Regions from separate parts of the Homo sapiens genome. Here all the other regions are linked to region 2. Evidence: promoter capture Hi-C in human tissues and cell types (Jung and others, 2019). All regions are on one chromosome and are shown on one strand. The core of a region is centred on a gene start or on the middle of the fragment in contact, and the rest is flanking DNA. Distances in the headings are between cores, read along the strand shown. Region 1 has its middle 8.5 kb from the start of PISD. Region 2 holds the start of PATZ1 (POZ/BTB and AT hook containing zinc finger 1). Region 3 overlaps PISD (phosphatidylserine decarboxylase).

Region 1 (2,700 bases), core at 18-2,517, 320 kb before region 2:
CATGGCAAAACCCTGTCTCTACAAAAAATACAAACGAAGTAGCCAGGTGTGGTGGTCCATGCCTGTAGTCCCAGCTACTTGTGAGACTGAGGCGGGAGGATTTCTGGAGCCCAGGAGGCCCAGGCTGCAAAGAGCTGTGAGTGTGCCAGCTGCACTCCAGCCTGGGGACAGAGCAAGACCCTGTCTCAAAACAACAACAGCAATGAAAACAAGTTATCTGTCTCTGGCAGCGTCAAACACACAGAAATTAAAATCTGGCAGGATTTCTTGGAATTTCTTTCAGAGACTTCATGCTGCACATCATTCAGATGATTAAAGTTCCAGGTCACTTTCTTTTTTTTTTTTTTTCTTTTGAGATGGAGTCTTGCTCTGTTGCCAGGCTAGATTGCAGTGGTGCCATCTTGGCTCACTGCATCCTCTACCTCCCTGGTTCAAGTGACTCTCCCACCTCAGCCTCCCGAGTAGCTGGGACTACAGGCATGAGCCACCACAGCTGACTAATTTTTGTATTTTTAGTAGGGATGGGGTTTTGCCATGTTGGCCAGGCTGGTCTCAAACTCCTGACCTCAGGTGAACCACCCACCTCGGCCTCCCAAAGTGCTGGGATTACAGGCGTGAGCCACTGCACCCGCCCTGCCAAGATCACTTTCTTGCAACATATTGTTACAAAACTTTTGTGAGCTGAATGGGGTTATATGACTTTAGCATTCCACAACCTCTCTTCCATAGCTCTGTATTCAGATACCAGCCACAGAATTCCGTTGTTCCACTTCAATACTCACATTATCCCAGTATTTTTTGGAAGGCCCAGGAGTCATGAAAATTCAGCCTGGAAAACTTTGGACACCTTGGGTGAAATGCAGCAGCCTGGAAGTCAGATTGCAGTATCCAGTCCAGCCATTTCACTTGCTGACCCTGTGACCTTCACAGAGTCACGTGACCTCTCCTTATCTTTAAAATGAAAAACTTGAGGCCGGGCGTGGTGACTCAGTCTCTACTAAAAATATAAAAATTACCCAGGTGTGGTGGCGTGTGCCTGTAATCCCAGCAGTTCAGGAGGCTGAGACACAAGAATCACTTGAGCCTAAGAGGTGGAGGTTGCAGTGAGCTGAGGTCACACCATCACACTCCAGCCTGGGCAACAAAGTGAGACTCCATCTAAAAAACAAAAACAAAAAGAAATAATACAGAGATCCTGGTGTACCCTTTACCCAATTTTCCCCCAATGGTAACATCTTGCAAAACTATACAATATCATAATCACAGTATTGACATCCATATAGTCAAGATACAGTACATTTCTATTACCAGGACCTACAAGGATGCCTTAGTCCTTTTATAGCTGCACACATTTCCCTCCCACTCCCACCCTCTCTTTAATCTCTGGCAACCACTAATCTGTTCTCCATTTCTCAATTTTGCTTGCCATGTAACATAACACATTCACAGGTTCTGAGGATTAGAATGTGGACATCACTGGCCGGGCACGGTGGCTCACGCTTGTAATCCCAGCACTTTGGGAGGCCAAGGCGGGTGGATCACGAGGTCAGGAGATCAAGACCATCCTGGCTAACACGGTGAAACCCCGTCTCTACTAAAAATACAAAAAATTAGCCAAGCACGGTGGTGGACGCATGTAGTCCCAGCTACTCTGGAGGCTGAGGCAGGAGAATGGTGTGAACCCAGGAGGCGGAGCTTGCAGTGAGCTGAGATCGTGCCACTGCACTCCAGCCTGGGTGACAGAGCAAGACTCTGTTAAAAAAAAAAAAAAAAGAATGTGGACATCACTGAGGATGGGGGTGTAGTGGTATTATTTAGCCTATCACAAAGTCGCATTGCAAACATCCCTTCCTCCAGGAGCCTTCTATACAAATCACTGCCACCAACCCAAATTAATTAAGCCATGCTACTTTTTTTTGAGATGGAATCTCACTCTGTCACCAGGCTGGAGTGCAGTGGTGCAATCTTGGCTCACTGCAGCCTCTGCCTCCTGGGTTCAAGCGATTCTCCTGCCTCAGCCTCCCAAGTAGCTGGGACTACAGGCGTGCGCCACCATGCCCAGCTAATTTTTGTATTTTTAATAGAGACGGGTTTTCACCATGTTGGCCAGGATGGTCTCGATCTCTTGAGCTTGTGATCCACCCGCCTCAGCCTCCCAAAGTGTTGGGATTACAGGCGTGAGCCACTGCACCTGGCCAAGTCACAGTACTTTTAAGTGTACTTTCTAATACCTACCATTAACCATAAACCAAATGTAAAGTTAATTATGTGACAGTTTCAATGTACAATTTTGAGAATTAGGGTTTTTTTTTTTTTTTTTTTTGAGACAGAGTTTCGCTCTTGTTGCCCAGGCTGGAGTGCAATGGCACGATCTCAGCTCACTGCAACCTCCACCTTCTGGGTTCAAGTGATTCTCCTGCCTCAGCCTCCCAAGTAGCTGGGATTATAGGTGTGCGCCACCACGCCTGGCTAATTTTTGTATTTTTAGTAGAGATGGGGTTTCACCATGTTGGTCAGGCTGGTCTCGAGCTCCTGACCTCGTGATCCGCCTGCCTTGGCCTCCCAAAGTGTTGGGATTACAGGCGTGAGCCATCACGCCCGGCTGTTGTTTTGTTTTGTTTTGTTTGTTTGAAACAGGGTCTTACTTCTTCACCTAAGCTGAAGTGCAGTAGCACCATCTTGTCTCACTGCAACCTCTGC
Region 2 (2,700 bases), core at 75-2,574:
GTGGGAATCCCGAGCGGAGTTGGAAGCCGGGCCCGTTCATTTGCATGCTAATACCCAGAATGCTTTTCCCCCGCACACCGCTTCTCTTAATGGAAGCGCTCAGTTTGGAACCGTGGAAAGTTTGGAACACATACTTCGCTGCCTCTTTGCAACTGTGGGAACTTCCCGCCCGCACACGCGGCGCCTGCAGCCTGGGGCTCCGCGCCAGGCGGCCCAAAGGCAGCCGCCAGCGCTTCCTGGGAAGACAAACCTTGGTGTACAACTCTAGCGTGGTAGCATCCCCGGGCGGGCCGGGGACAAAGCGCCGAGGCCTGGCGGCAGGGCCCATTACCAGAGCACCCGGCGTCTCACAGGGCTGCGGGCGCTGGGGATGCTCCGGGCTTGGAGAGGCCTGAGGGTGTCCCCGACTCCTCCGGCACCCCCACTTCCCTGAGGATTGCTGGGGCTTCCGGGGGTCCCTGCCCCGTCCATCGCCCTCATATTGTCGCCTCCCGGAGCTGGTGACTTCACGCTCCCCGGGGACAAAGCTCGGCGTGCTGTGGTTTGGGGGAGAAGCTGGACGCTGGCTTCATCTCTCCAGCTCTTCCGGGCGCGCAGCCCATCAGATCGATCAATGTACCGGGTGCAGAAGCAGCTCCGGAGGTTCGGCCTGTCTCCGGCCAGGACCCCGGGCCCTCTCTGGTGTTTGAAGCAGGGAGGCGGTCGCAGGCGACTTCTGGGAATTTCACGCATGAAAGCGGGGCTCCGAAGGGTGGACGACGCCCGCTCGACCTGCGAGTGCGCTTCGCAGGCTGGGGGGCCCGGATCCGCACCCCTCAGTTCCTGCCCCCCCACCCTGCTAGCCGCCACTCTCAGCGGGCAGGGGAGGGGCAGTGGGAGCTGGTTTGCTGGCTCGGCGCTTCGTTTGCATTGGTCCGGGGGGGCTGAGACTGCAGCCCCCGGCCCCGCGGGCGGGGTGGGGAGGCGGGGGCCGGACGGGGGCTCAGGCTGCTCTAGCATTGGCGGATCTGGGGAATGGGGAGGGGGGGCAGGAAGCGGGGGGAGCGGACTGCGGGGGGGGGGTGTATAAATAGGGAAGGGGGGACGTGCATCCTCGTCTTGGTGAGGGGGGGGCGCTCGGCACAAAGAAAGTGTAAAGTTTGCAGCGCCAGGCGGCCCGGGCTAGGCATCCGGGCGCGCACGTGCAAGGCCGGGGACGCCGGGGCCCCCACTCTGAGCTCGCCGTTTCTTTTTTTTCTGCAAGCGAGAGGGGGGGTGTTGTTGGTATCGCCCCCTCCTTCTCCTCCCCCCAGGGGTGAAAGTGCAAGAGGAAGTGCAGCCGCTGCCATCTTTCCTCCGCTCCGAACACACGGAGCCCGGGGCCGCACAGCCGCCGCTCCGCCGCCGCCTTCTCCCGGCCTGAGGAAGGGCCTACTCTGCCGCCGCCGCCGCCCGCCCGCTCCAGCCGCCGCCGCCGCCGCCACCGCCCTCCAGGCTCCGGGACCCGGCCCGCGCCACCGCCCCCGTGCGCGCCCCGCCGCCGCCGCCTTCGCCTTCGCCTTTTGTTTCCTCCGCTCCGGCGCCCCCGCCCCGGCTCGCGCTTTGCAGGGGACGCAGCGCGCGCCCCCAGCGGGCCCGGGAAAAGCCGCGGCGCGCGCGCGCGCCTGCGCGGCGGACCCCTCCTTCTCCTCCCCGCGTGCGCGTGCCCTTCTTGGCTGCGCGCCGGCGCCGCCTGGCGGGCGGGAGGGGAGGTGGCAGGCGCGTTTGCAGGAGGGGCGCACCTCTTCGCTCGCGCACCCCCCCGGAAGGTAGACCGGGAAGGGGAGGCGGGCGGGCGGAGAGGAGAGAGTGGCGCGCAGTCCAGCGAGGGCGGGGGTTGGCTATGTGGGGGGTGGTGCACCCCGCAGTCTAGACAGTCTGATCCGGGCTGGGGGCGTGTACACTCGGCGCACCTGCGAGACTACAGAGCCTCGGGCCGGCACGTGTGGGGAGTGTGGACACGTCTGCTGCGCCCCGCTTCTCGCTGCTGAGGGGAAGGGAGGGGGCGGGCAGGTGCAGCGGCCGGGCTAGTGGGAGGGGGCGGCGGCCATGGAGCGGGTGAACGACGCTTCGTGCGGCCCGTCTGGCTGCTACACATACCAGGTGAGCAGACACAGCACGGAGATGCTGCACAACCTGAACCAGCAGCGCAAAAACGGCGGGCGCTTCTGCGACGTGCTCTTGCGGGTAGGCGACGAGAGCTTCCCAGCGCACCGCGCCGTGCTGGCCGCCTGCAGCGAGTACTTTGAGTCGGTGTTCAGCGCCCAGTTGGGCGACGGCGGAGCTGCGGACGGGGGTCCGGCTGATGTAGGGGGCGCGACGGCAGCACCAGGCGGCGGGGCCGGGGGCAGCCGGGAGCTGGAGATGCACACTATCAGCTCCAAGGTATTTGGGGACATTCTGGACTTCGCCTACACTTCCCGCATCGTGGTGCGCTTGGAGAGCTTTCCCGAACTCATGACGGCCGCCAAGTTCCTGCTGATGAGGTCGGTTATCGAGATCTGCCAGGAAGTCATCAAACAGTCCAACGTACAGATCCTGGTACCCCCTGCCCGCGCCGATATAATGCTCTTTCGCCCCCCTGGGACCTCGGACTTGGGCTTCCCTTTGGACATGACCAACGGGGCAGCCTTGGCAGCCAACAGCAATGGCATCGCCGGCAGCATGCAGCCAGAGGAGGAG
Region 3 (2,700 bases), core at 168-2,667, 310 kb before region 2:
GGCGTGATCTCGGCTCACTGCAACCTCTGCCTCCCAGGTTCAAGCAATTCTCCTGCCTCAGCCTCCCCAGTAGCTGGGATTACAGGGGCACACCACCACGCCCATCTAATTTTTTGGATTTTAGTAGCTACTGGGTTTTACCGTGTTGCCCAGGCTGGTCTCAAACTCCTGAGCTCAGGCAATTCCTCCACCTTGGCCTCCCAAAGTATTAGGATTACAGGTGTGAGCCACCACGCCTGGCCTTCCTGCCATCTTTAATACTTCCCACAGTCGGCATGTTTGTCTGCATCAAGCTGGCTGGTGGGGGTAAGCTTGGAGGTGAATGCCTGGGAAGCCCGAATGATCCTCAGATTTCATTGGTTCACACTTAGTCTCATGGCCACACCTTGCTGCACAGGAGGCTGGGAAATTTAGTCTAACAGGTGTCCAGAAGAGGAAGTGCATTTGGTAAACATCTGGCTAGTCTCTCCTATGGATAGAGAACTCGGGCAGGAGCAGATTGAAGGTGAGTTAGAGAGGGTCGGGAATCCTGTCTTCTACAGACTCAGTTTGAGAGGACTCAAAATGGGGCCATTGGGTAGCTGGCCCCTGGAGGAGCAATGAAGGAGTCATCAGTGGATGGTTCTTTAAAGCCATGGGACTGGATAAGCATCTCTGGGGAGAGTTTATAGGTAGAGAAGAGATCTGAACCCTGGGCATGGCAAGAATCCACAGTTAGGAAGCAAAGGAGAATTCACAAATAGAGACTGAGAAGAAACCAGAGAAATAGGAAAAAAATCACGGTCCCAAAAGCCCAGTGAAGAGTGTTTCAAGGAGAGAAGGATCAACTGTGTCATGCTGCTGAGACGTCAAGTAAGATGAGACCTCAGATATGTGTGTGCATTGGTGTTGGCAACATGCAGGTTGTTGGTGACCTTGATGAGGTGGTGTGATAGGAACAAAACCTTACTGAGTGGGACTAAGAGAGGCTGAGAGGTGAGGAAGTGGTAACAGTGAGTGGAGAGCTCTTTTTAGGCTTGGAATGAAGGAGAGCAGAAAAGTAGGGAGGACCAAAGAATGATAGCATGGTAGACAGTGTTTGTGTAAGACTGAAGAAATGACAGCATTCATATGAAAATCGGGACGATCCCGTAATAAGATTCTCCTGCCTCAGCCTCCTGAGTAGCTGGTACTACAGCGTGTGTGCCACCACACCTGGCTAATTTTTGTATTTTTAGTGGAAATGGGGTTTCACCATGTTGGCCAGGCTGGTCTCGAACTCCTGACCTCAAGTGATCCACCCGCCTTGGCCTCCCAAAGTGCTGGAATTACAGTCATGAGCCACCATGCTCAGCTAGGTGTTTATAAGTCAAGGAAGTTTTATGTGAAAAAAGGGAAGTACCTAAATCTGATGTACCAAACTGATATAATGAAGCATTTCCCAGTATTTGTTCCAGCAGCTGGGACTACAGCGGTGGACAAAAAGCTGAGCTGTTTGTTCTTGGGCAGGGTTCCTGAGGGGGAAGATGGATATGCAAAACAAACCACCTGAGTGCCCTGTGTCCAGTTACGGTGGATACATAAATGATCATCTCCCATTCCTATTTCCTCCTGTCAGACAAAGCCTTGTTAATCATTGTGCAAACATTCTTTCAGTTAGGGGTTTTTCAGTATTCTGGAAAACACAATGCGGCAATGTACAGAACACAACAATTTATCCTTCAGTCCGTTTTTGCACTTCTCGTTAAAATTCTGTTTAGAAAGCAGGGTTTTAGGCTTTTTGCTGTGGCAGTGGGAGTATCCAGTCTAAGAAATGAACATTGTTCAGAACTGAAAGAACTTTCATATACTGAAATATACCCTTCATTGTGTTAATAGCTGTCTGGCCTTGGGGGTGGTGCTCGTCATGGTAAGATGCTTTTTCTCCTTGTTTGCCTATAGGAGAATCAGATTCATCATGTTAGCTACAATAGTGCTATGCTGCAAGGTGGGTGTGGTTTTTTTTTTTTTTTTTTTTTAAGGTAGGGTCCTACTCTGTCACCCAGCCTGGAGTACAGTAGCGTGTTTTCGGCTCACTGTAACCTCTGCCTCCTGGGTTCAGGCGATCCTCCCACTTCAACTTTTTGGTTAGGTAGGACTACAGGCACATGCCACCATGCCCGGCTAATTTTTGTATTTTTTGTACAGATGGGGTTTCACCATGTTGCCCAGGCTGGTCTTGAACTCCTGGGCTCAAGCAATCCTCCCACCTCAGCCTCCCACAGTGCCAGGATTATAGTTGTGAACCACAATGCCCAGCCTGGCAAGGGGGGTGTTTGTTTTGTTTTGTTTTGTGATTCTCCTGCCTCAGCCTCCCGAGTAGCTGGTACTACAGCATGTGTGCCACCGCGCCCGGCTAATTTTTGTATTTTTAGTAGAGACGGGGTTGCACCATGTTGGCCAGGCTGGTCTCGAACTCCTGACCTCAAGTGATCCACCCACCTCGGCCTCCCAAAGTGCTGGGATTCCAGGCGTGAGCCATCATGTGCTCAGCCAGGTGTTTGTAAGGCAAGGAAATTTTATGTGAAAAAAGGAAAGTACCTAAATCTGATAACATTTGTAGGATATCTATACAAGACATAACTTGGGCCAAGTGCTGTGGCTCACATCTGTAATCCCAGCACTTTGGCGGGCCGAGGCAGGTGGATCACTTGAGGTCAGGAGTTTGAGGCCAGCCTGGCC

What was found. The method cuts DNA at HindIII sites, captures the fragments that hold promoters and counts their contacts. A contact is called where the count stands out against the background at its distance.
Region 1: a contact is called between a fragment that was not itself captured here and the fragment with the promoter of PATZ1 in region 2, in 1 of the 25 tissues and cell types used here (thymus).
Region 3: a contact is called between a fragment that was not itself captured here and the fragment with the promoter of PATZ1 in region 2, in 1 of the 25 tissues and cell types used here (lymphoblastoid cells).

What each region holds. Positions count from the first base shown.
Region 1 is chr22:31,669,346-31,672,045 of GRCh38, reverse strand. No RefSeq gene overlaps it. Among named protein-coding and RNA genes, the nearest start is that of PISD, 8.5 kb to the right of the region's middle. The HindIII fragment of the contact is 7,943 bases long and covers 1-2,700 here.
Region 2 is chr22:31,344,970-31,347,669 of GRCh38, reverse strand. It overlaps PATZ1 (POZ/BTB and AT hook containing zinc finger 1), which reads left to right and starts at 1,324. Exons shown (of 5, transcript NM_014323.3): 1 at 1,324-2,700. The coding sequence starts at 2,068. It overlaps LINC01521 (long intergenic non-protein coding RNA 1521), which reads right to left and starts at 911. Exons shown (of 1, transcript NR_120386.1): 1 at 1-911. RefSeq lists silencers at 819-1,038, 1,089-1,158, 1,529-1,948, 2,499-2,568. The HindIII fragment of the contact is 10,371 bases long and covers 1-2,700 here.
Region 3 is chr22:31,652,336-31,655,035 of GRCh38, reverse strand. All of the region lies in intron 1 of PISD (phosphatidylserine decarboxylase), which reads left to right. Among named protein-coding and RNA genes, the nearest start is that of PISD, 8.5 kb to the left of the region's middle. The HindIII fragment of the contact is 4,585 bases long and covers 1-2,700 here.